Regions from separate parts of the Homo sapiens genome. Here region 1 is linked to region 2. Evidence: promoter capture Hi-C in 16 types of primary human blood cells and fetal thymus (Javierre and others, 2016). All regions are on one chromosome and are shown on one strand. Each heading gives the region's core, a stretch centred on a gene start or on the middle of the fragment in contact. The rest is flanking DNA. Distances are from core to core; before and after follow the strand shown.

The links. Contacts are between HindIII fragments. The CHiCAGO score rates a contact against its expected background, and 5 or more counts as called.
Region 1: a contact is called between a fragment that was not itself captured here and the fragment with the promoter of MKI67 in region 2, in 2 of 17 cell types (neutrophils and total CD8 T cells). The highest score is 7.0, in neutrophils.

What each region holds. Positions count from the first base shown.
Region 1 is chr10:128,013,118-128,017,345 of GRCh38, reverse strand. All of the region lies in intron 2 of PTPRE (protein tyrosine phosphatase receptor type E), which reads right to left. Among named protein-coding and RNA genes, the nearest start is that of AS-PTPRE, 47 kb to the left of the region's middle. The HindIII fragment of the contact is 1,476 bases long and covers 1,395-2,870 here.
Region 2 is chr10:128,124,902-128,129,149 of GRCh38, reverse strand. MKI67 (marker of proliferation Ki-67) reads left to right here and starts at 2,727. Exons shown (of 15, transcript NM_002417.5): 1 at 2,727-3,051; 2 at 3,394-3,574. The coding sequence starts at 3,483. RefSeq lists an enhancer at 2,238-2,467 and a silencer at 2,578-2,947. The HindIII fragment of the contact is 8,920 bases long and covers 1-4,248 here.

The DNA.
Region 1 (4,228 bases), core at 883-3,382, 110 kb after region 2:
ATCCAGCAAGCGTGCCAGGCCTCTTACCTCCAATTTCTATAGCTCTCAGCTCTTCTTAATGTTCTTAATGCCCGCCCCACTTGCCCCGCCAAACTCTTTTGATCCATTCCCCTCTGAGCCATGCCAACCTCTCCAGGGACCAGCACCTCTCAGCCACCTGGGTGCTGTTCCCAGGCCACCGAACTGCCCTCTTTTCACTGCCATCAGCCTGGCCCACGCTGCTCACTGGATGCTGGGCTGTCTCCTCCCAGCATTCTGACCCCTCAGTTCTGCAGTCTGACTCGCATACAGCAGGTGCTCAATGCGTGTGCATGACGAGGTCTGCCTTACACTTTCCAAGATGTGCCTCATCTTCCACCCACATTTCCTAAACTCTTCTAAGGTAAAGGAGGAGTGGGAGGGACCTCACAGGACCCCTGAGTATTTGGTCTGGGGCAGAGGGAGCCAAGGCCAGGGCGGCACCGGCTCCACAGCGGCCACAGGTCTCCCCGGCAGGAAGGCAGGAAGCTGCTGTGCCTCAGCCACGTTGGGCTAAACAAGGTGAGTCTGTTCCTCTCACCTGTGTGAAAAGGCAAGTCATACCAACAAATCCAAAACAGTAGCATGACTGGGGCCACTGGGTGGGCAGTGATTTGGTGGGATGAGACCTTTCTGGCTGTCCCTGTGGTCCCCTCTGAGCTGTGCCAACCTCCCAGGGACCGACACATCTCGGCCACCTGGGTGCTGTTCCCAGGCCACTGAACTGCCCTCTGCTCACCGCCGTCAGCCTGGCCCACGCTGTTCCCTGGACCCTGAGCTGTCTCCTCACCAGCCTGGGCAACATAGCAAGACTCCATCTCTAAAAAAGTAAAAAAAAAAAAAAAATTGGCCAGGCATAGTGGCACTGGTCTAAAAAAATAGACATGCTTTTAGAGTAGTTTTAGGTTCTCACCACATGGATGGCTGGTGGTGAAGGATGTTTCTCCACCTGGGGGCTGGGGGTGCCTGGTTAACATAAGAGTACAAATTTACTGTAACAGAAGCTGCAAATTGGGTCCCGCTGACTAAATGTGACCTGTATTACTGGGTTTGACCTGTTCTGTGTTTTGAAAGTTTTACATTTTTTGAAAAGCTGTAATTACATAGAGTTAAGTGCATGGGCCTTAAGCCTACGGTATGATGAGTTTGGGCAAATGTCTGCTGCAGACCCCCATATGGTCCATGCCCTGGTCCCCTGGAGGAACATCTGTCACTATCCTAGACACCTCCTTCTTGTCCCTTTTCAGTCTACCAAAAAGTCCCCTCCTGCAACCCCAGGAAGCCCACACCATTCTGATCTCCACCTCCAGAGAAGATGCCCTTGCCTGCCCTTGAGCTTCCTCTAAGTGGAAACACGCAGCTCGTGTCCTAAAGCTTCTCTAGTGCCACAGGCTTCAAGGCCCATCCGCTTTCTCATGGGCACCGCAGCCCATTCCTTTGGACTGCAGAACAGCATACAGTCATGTGATTGTGCTGCCATCTGCTCTCCAGCTCTCCCCTTTTATTTATTAGTTTTAGAGACAGGGTCTTGCTCTGTCCCCCAGGTTGCAGTGCAGTTGCAAGATCATAGCTCACTGTAACCTCGAATTCCAGGGCCCAAGTGAGTAGCTGGGACTACAGGCATGTGGCACCATACCTGGCCAATTTTTAATTATAAGATGAGCTCAGCTGGACGTGGTAGCTCACGTAATCCCAGCACTTTGGGAGGCTGAGGCGGGTGGATCACGAAGTCAGGAGATCAAGACCATCCTGGCTAACACGGTGAAACCCCATCTCTACTAAAAATACAAAAAATTAGCTAGGTGTGGTGGCGGGTGCCTGTAGTCCCAGCTACTCAGGAGGCTGAGGCAGGAGAATGGTGTGAACCCAGGAGGCGGAGCTTGCAGTGAGCCGAGATCACGCCACTGCACTTCAGCCTGGGCGACAGAGCGAGACTCCATCTCAAAAAAAAAAAAGAGGTCTTCCTATGTTGTCCAGGCTGGTCTTCAACTCCTGAGCTTAAGCGATTCTTCTGCCTTGACCTCCCAAAGTGCTGGGATTATAGGCGTGAGCCACGAGGCCCGGCCCCATTCTCCTCTTGATACACATTTGAGTTGTTTCAGTTAGTTTGCTCTTATAAACAAAGCTGCTATGAATGCTTGGGTACAGGTCTTTGCTATGAATGCTTGGGTACAGGTCTTTTTGTGGACACATTTCTTCATGTATTTGGGGTCAACAACCGTAAGTGGAATTTCTAGGTTGGAAGAGGAAGTATATATGTTTACAAAGGTTTTAAATTAGTTTGAAATATTTAGAATCAGAGGAGTCCACATGAAAGTCTGGAGATCTGTCTTCTCTCGGGAAGACCGGGTGTGGCATGCACTCTTGTGTGACCCTCTGGGCTGGTCCCTGAGCTTGCAGAGTGTCAGCATGGCCCCCACCCCATCCCATTCCCAGCCATGTCATCTCCACTGTCTCCTTCCTACCAGCCTGGGGCTGCAGTTCCACAAATGGACGCCCAGCCACAGGGTTTGGGTTTATAGTGGCTCGTCAAATGCAGAGGGCTCCGCTGACCACCCCCAGTGCCCTCACTGGGAGCGCCAACAAGCCAAGGTGAAGCTGGGGTTGAGACGGGGGATGGGGGATTGCTGATTTTTTTTCTTCCTGACTCAAAGCAACAACTTTTAGTAAATTCCAAGTGAAATGCTTCCTTTTCCAGGCCCCCACTATTCAAAGTTGTGGGAGAATTTTTAATTTGGTTCAGTCTTCCTTAATATGCTGCAGATACACAGATTTTAATCTTCTTTTATTAAAAATAAATCCGCCCTCCTCGCATGGGTCTCTTGTGTAAATATCTAATTAGGGCAAAAGCTTGGCCCAGCCCAACAGGGGTGTGTCAATGTCCCCCTCGATACACGCCGTTTGAAGGAAGAGACTTCAAAGAATTGCCCCCATCTTCTGAAGAATGTTAATTGGGCCAAACAATGTGCATGCATTATTTATAACTGCTCCTCCGGTTGTTTGGGAGAACATTTGACCCCAAATTGCAACTAAGGAGAGAACGCTCCATATTTTATAACTCAGAGAAGCTGCTTCACAACCTCCCTGGACACCCCAGCTGTGAGGGGACGCACCCTCTGCCAGTGCCTGGAGGGGACCTGTGGAGCTGGGGTCCCTGCCAAAGCCCTGGTCCTCATCAGACTTGTTAGGGTGGTGCATCTCCTGCTTTGCCAGCCAGTCTGGGACGGAGGATCAGAATCCTCATCTAGAACAGAGATGACCACGACCCAGAGAGGACAGGCAATTTGGCCTGAGGCACACTTCAAGAGAATGGCAGAGGTAGGGGCACATTGGGTCTTGTCTAATTCCGTGGTAGCCTCCTGCACGCACACATGCATGCATTCCACTACTTACTGGCACCTACTTGCATTCAAAGGTGAACACAACAAACACAGCCCTGCCTTCGGGAAACTCCCTCTACACACTGTCTTAGTCAGCCCAGCTGCCATAACAAAATATCTTAGACTGGGTAAACAACAGAAGCTCCTCACAGTTCTGAAAGCTGAGAAGTCCAGGATGAAGGTGCCAGCGGATGTGGTGTCTGGGGAGGGCCCTCTGCCTGTTCAAGACCTTTTTGCTGTGTCCTCAACAAATAGGTCCCCTGGAGCCTATTTTGTAAGGGCACTAATCCCATTCAAGAGGGCTCCACCTTCATGACCTAATCACCTCCCAAGGCCCCGCCTCCTCAACCCAGCACATTGGTGATCAGATTTCAGCATATAAATCTGGGGGGGGACACAGACATTCAGATCATAGCACATCCCTCCTCTGTCTACCATGTGACCGTTTAAAGGATTGCTTTTCTCAGCAGGTGCTGCCCCTTAAAGCTGCTGTCCATCAAACTCCTTTCTACTAGCAGCCCCCAGTGGCGCTCCAAGATAGGATTCTCCCTCCATTTCTAGATTATCCCAACAGGTTTCCTAACAGATCCCCCCAGCTATTTGTTTTGACCGCACACATTGAGAGCTGCAGGGCAACTTTATGTTTCCTCTACTCACGACTTCGGAGAACACTCTCTTTGCCACCCTCGACCCAGCTAACCGATGAGTTTCCATTTGGTAAGGCTACACACTTGAAGTAATACAGTTCCAGGGTTACGTTTTTCTTTACTGACACTCTGTTGGTAAACTACAGTCAACAGCATGTAATTATAGAAAATTATAATGCAGCA
Region 2 (4,248 bases), core at 1,478-3,977:
CTGCACTCCAGCCTGGGTGACAGAGTGAGACTCAGTCTCAAAAAAAAAAAAGTGAAACCCCATCTCCACTAAAAATACAAAAAAAAAAAATAGCTGGGCTTAGCAGCAGACACCTGTAATCCCAGCTACTTGGGAGGCTGAGGCAGGAGAATCGCTTGAACCTGGGAGGCGGAGGTTGCAGTAAGCAGAGATTGCACCACTGCACTCCAGCCCGGGGGACAGAGTGAGACTTCATCTCAAAAAAGAAAAACAACAACAGCAACAACAGAAAAGAAGTAACTCAAAATGTTTCAAAGAAGTAACTCAAAATGTTTTTCTTTCTTTCTTCCTTTTTCTTCTCTCTTTCTTTCTTTTTCTCCTCTCTTTTTCTTCTCTCTCTCTTTCTTTCTTTCTTTTTCTTTCTTTCTTTCCTTCGTTCTTTCTTTCTGTCTCTCTCTCTTTTCTATTTTTTTTTTTTGATGGAGTCTCGCTCTGTTGCCCAGGCTGAAGCGCAGTGGCGTGACCTTGGCTTACTGCAACCACTGCCTCCCGGGTTCAAGTGATTCTCCTGCCTCAGCCTTCCGAGTAGCTGGGACTACAGGCGTGTGCCACTACACCCGACTAATTTTTGTATTTTTAGTAGAGATGGGGTTTCACCATATTGGTCAGTCTGGTCTTGAATTCCTGACCTCATGATCCACCCACCTTGGCCTCCCAAAGTGCTGGGATTACAAGCATGAGCCCCTGCGCCTGGCCTAGCACCTTCTAGTTCTAATTAGGCTGCATCCATGAGGGTGGAAGAACTGTCTCTGGAAACAAGCAGTAATTAGGATGAGAAAAGTTGTGTTTTATGGGGTTATGCAGTGGTGGGCTTTGTTTGATCGTTTAATGGGGGAAAACATGGAAACTCATGCCCCCTAAAACGTTTATATAATAGTATCCCCGCACTGAATTTTTCTACGTCAGACTTGGCCCATACAATTTAGAGTTGCTGTCCTGTGCTTTTATGTTGCTTTCCCAGTTTCTCTATTTCCATCAGCAGCTGATATCTTTGTAGTTGCTCTAGAGCAGAGGGCTCAGTCTTTTCAATCTTGTGGTCCCTTTACACTCTTAAGAATTATTGAGAACCACCAGGAATTTTTGTTAATGTGGATGGGTTATATCTAGCTATATTTATATATTTTAAGTTAAGGCTAAGGAATTTAAAAATATTCATTTATTGATTCATTTTAAGATAGTGATGCACCTATTTCATGCTAACACCAATAACTTATTTTTATGGAAAAAAAACAACAAAATGAAAACAGCGCTTTAGTTCACATTTTTGCAAATCTCTGTAATACCTGGTTGAAACGGAGACAGTGGGAGTCTCCTCACTGCTTCTGCATTTGCAGAACCACACCCCACACTCTTGGGAGCATGAGAATGAGAAGGGCAAGTAACACAGAGGGTCATTAGATAAATGGTTTTGACCTTATGGACTCTCTGAAAGGAATAGGAAGTCCTCAGGGGTCCCCTGCATCGAGGCCTCCCTGATCAAGGGAGCCAAGCTCCAAGGGTTGCTGGGGAGCTGGAGGAGGTGAGATGGGGCAGAGAGGCCGTTGTCACCAAAAGCGTGTTTAGGCTCCATTCACTTCACCCCAGGTGGCCTACTGAGCCCACATGGCCACCAGCGCAACTGAAGCAGACCCCGATAGAATCCTGTGTAGAATTATTTTAGGATTCACCCATCTTGGCATGCACAAGCCATTTCAATTGAAGAATGTTTTCTAATAACAAAACATTGTAAACCTAAGTATGTGGCAATAGTAATGATTAAGTAAATTATGGTTTCCCGAAGCCCAGTGCTCTGCAGCCATCAGAGAGTAAAAGCGAGAATGTGTTCAGTGGAGATAGCCTCAGGATATTTAAAAGCAGAGAGCACAAAGTATAGAATCGTGTTGTGTATGTTATGACCTTTTTTTCTGTGCTTTTGAAAAAGAGAATACACGTATAGCAGGAAAAGACACACCAAACTACTTTATATAATTGGTTGTTTTTGTGTTTGGTAAGATGTATGCACTGAAGAGGAAGGTTTCGATTTTTTTTTTTTTTTTTTTTTTTTTTTTGAGACAGGGCTTTGCTCTGTCGCCCAGGCTGGAGTGCAGTGGCGCGATCTCAGCTCACTGCAGCCTCGACCGCCCCGGCTCAAGCGATCCTCCCACCTCAGCTGTCCCAGTAGCTAGAACTACAGGGGCGCCACCACGCCTGGCGAATTTTTTGTAGAGATGGGTTCTCTCCAGGTGGCCCAGGCTGGTTCTGAACTCCCGGGCTCAAGGGATCTTCCTGCTTCAGCTTCCCAAAGTGCGGGGATTACCGGCGTGAGCCACCGCGTCCCGCCTGTTTTTAATTTTTAGCAGTTTTAAATCTTCTGGCAATGAGTAATGTTATAGTGTCCCAGATGTTTGGTCCTTTAAGAAAAGGATAGCAGGACGGGTTATCTCGGTGGGAGCGTGTTCCACCTCTGCCCTCCGCCAGCCGCCCTCGCCGGGGATGCACCCAGGTATTTTCCTCCGGATGCGTGAGTGGCTCGCCCGCGGACACGCCAGCCCCGCCCCGCGAGCCCGGTTTCCCCGCCCCCTCCCCGCCCACGCCCTGCGCTCCCTTCCTATTGGTCCCATGCCGCGCTTTCCCGTTCAATCGCAGCGCTTAGCGCCAGAATTTGAATCTTCGTTTTCGTTTGAATTGGGCGGGCGCGCCGGGCTGGAAGAAGGAAGTGGAGGGCTGACGCTGCGGGCGGGCGGGCGGGCGGGAGGACTCGACTCGGTGGGAGCCGCTAGAGCCGGGCGCCCGGGGACGTAGCCTGTAGGGCCACCGGGTCCCCGTCAGAGGCGGCGGCGGGAGCAGCGGGGACTGCAGGCCGGGGTGCAGCGAACGCGACCCCGCGGGCTGCGGCCCGGTGTGTGCGGAGCGTGGCGGGCGCAGCTTACCGGGCGGAGGTGAGCGCGGCGCCGGCTCCTCCTGCGGCGGACTTTGGGTGCGACTTGACGAGCGGTGGTTCGACAAGTGGCCTTGCGGGCCGGATCGTCCCAGGTGAGCTGCGGCCGGGACTCCTGGGAGCTGTCCGGGGTCGAGGGCTGAGCCGCGGGGACCCCCCGAGCTCTGCGGGGACGGGCAGGGGACAGACGCGCGGCCTGGGCCCGACTCCTCCTGGGCTCTGGCGAGGGCGTCTCGGTGGAAGCTCCCAGGAGGCGCAGGCGCTGGCGACAACACCCCAGCTGCCGGACTTTGGGGCGCCGGGGGCTGCGGTCGGATCGTCCTGGGGTCCCCGCTAGCTAGCTGCGGTGTGCGCTTCTGTGGCCGGGGATAGGTGAATTGGGCACGGGGCCCTTCTTAGCTCCTTTGCTATCAGAGTAACTCGCACCTCTTTTGCAGTGGAAGAGTTGTAAATTTGCTTCTGGCCTTCCCCTACGGATTATACCTGGCCTTCCCCTACGGATTATACTCAACTTACTGTTTAGAAAATGTGGCCCACGAGACGCCTGGTTACTATCAAAAGGAGCGGGGTCGACGGTCCCCACTTTCCCCTGAGCCTCAGCACCTGCTTGTTTGGAAGGTGAGCCCCGCGGGCGCGCGCGGACGTTTTAGCTGAGAAAGAGGAAAATACCTTAGTCACAGAATAAAGTCCAGAAACGCGCTCTAGGATTGGGTCCTGCCGTCACTTTTCCTTGGTGCTTCTCCCATTCGTTACTAAGTTGACATAGTTGTGTTTTTTTGTTTTGTAAGTATAAATTTGATGCTAGTTTGTATGTTTAAGTGGTTTTAAAAATCAAGCCAATTAAAAAAATCGATTTGCTAATGTTGCGGTAAAGAAAGATGTAGATGATCTTCATATGTCACTGGCTGCAGGCAGGCGTCTGAAGACACTGTGCGCCCCCGGGTGCCTCCACAGTGGGCATCCCTGGCCACTGGGGACACAGAGAATGAAGGAAGGAAGCCATACACTTGTCTCTTGGCTCCTTGTGGCAATAGGAAAATGGGACAGAAAGTCTTCCTGCCTGGAATTCGAGAACGTTTCCTCTTATATTGCTGTCCTGTTTGGTGGTGGTAATAACCCTGTCCCTGTATAACAGGTATAGTTGCTGACAGTGCCCCATCAGCCTCTGACATGTGTCCCACTAGAGGCCTGAGAAGGGGGGTCATTTCCCGTGTGGTCATTTCCCAGACCACACGGGATTCAGGCCTCACCCTGTCCTCCCAACCCCATCCCGGCCTCACCCTGTCCTCCCA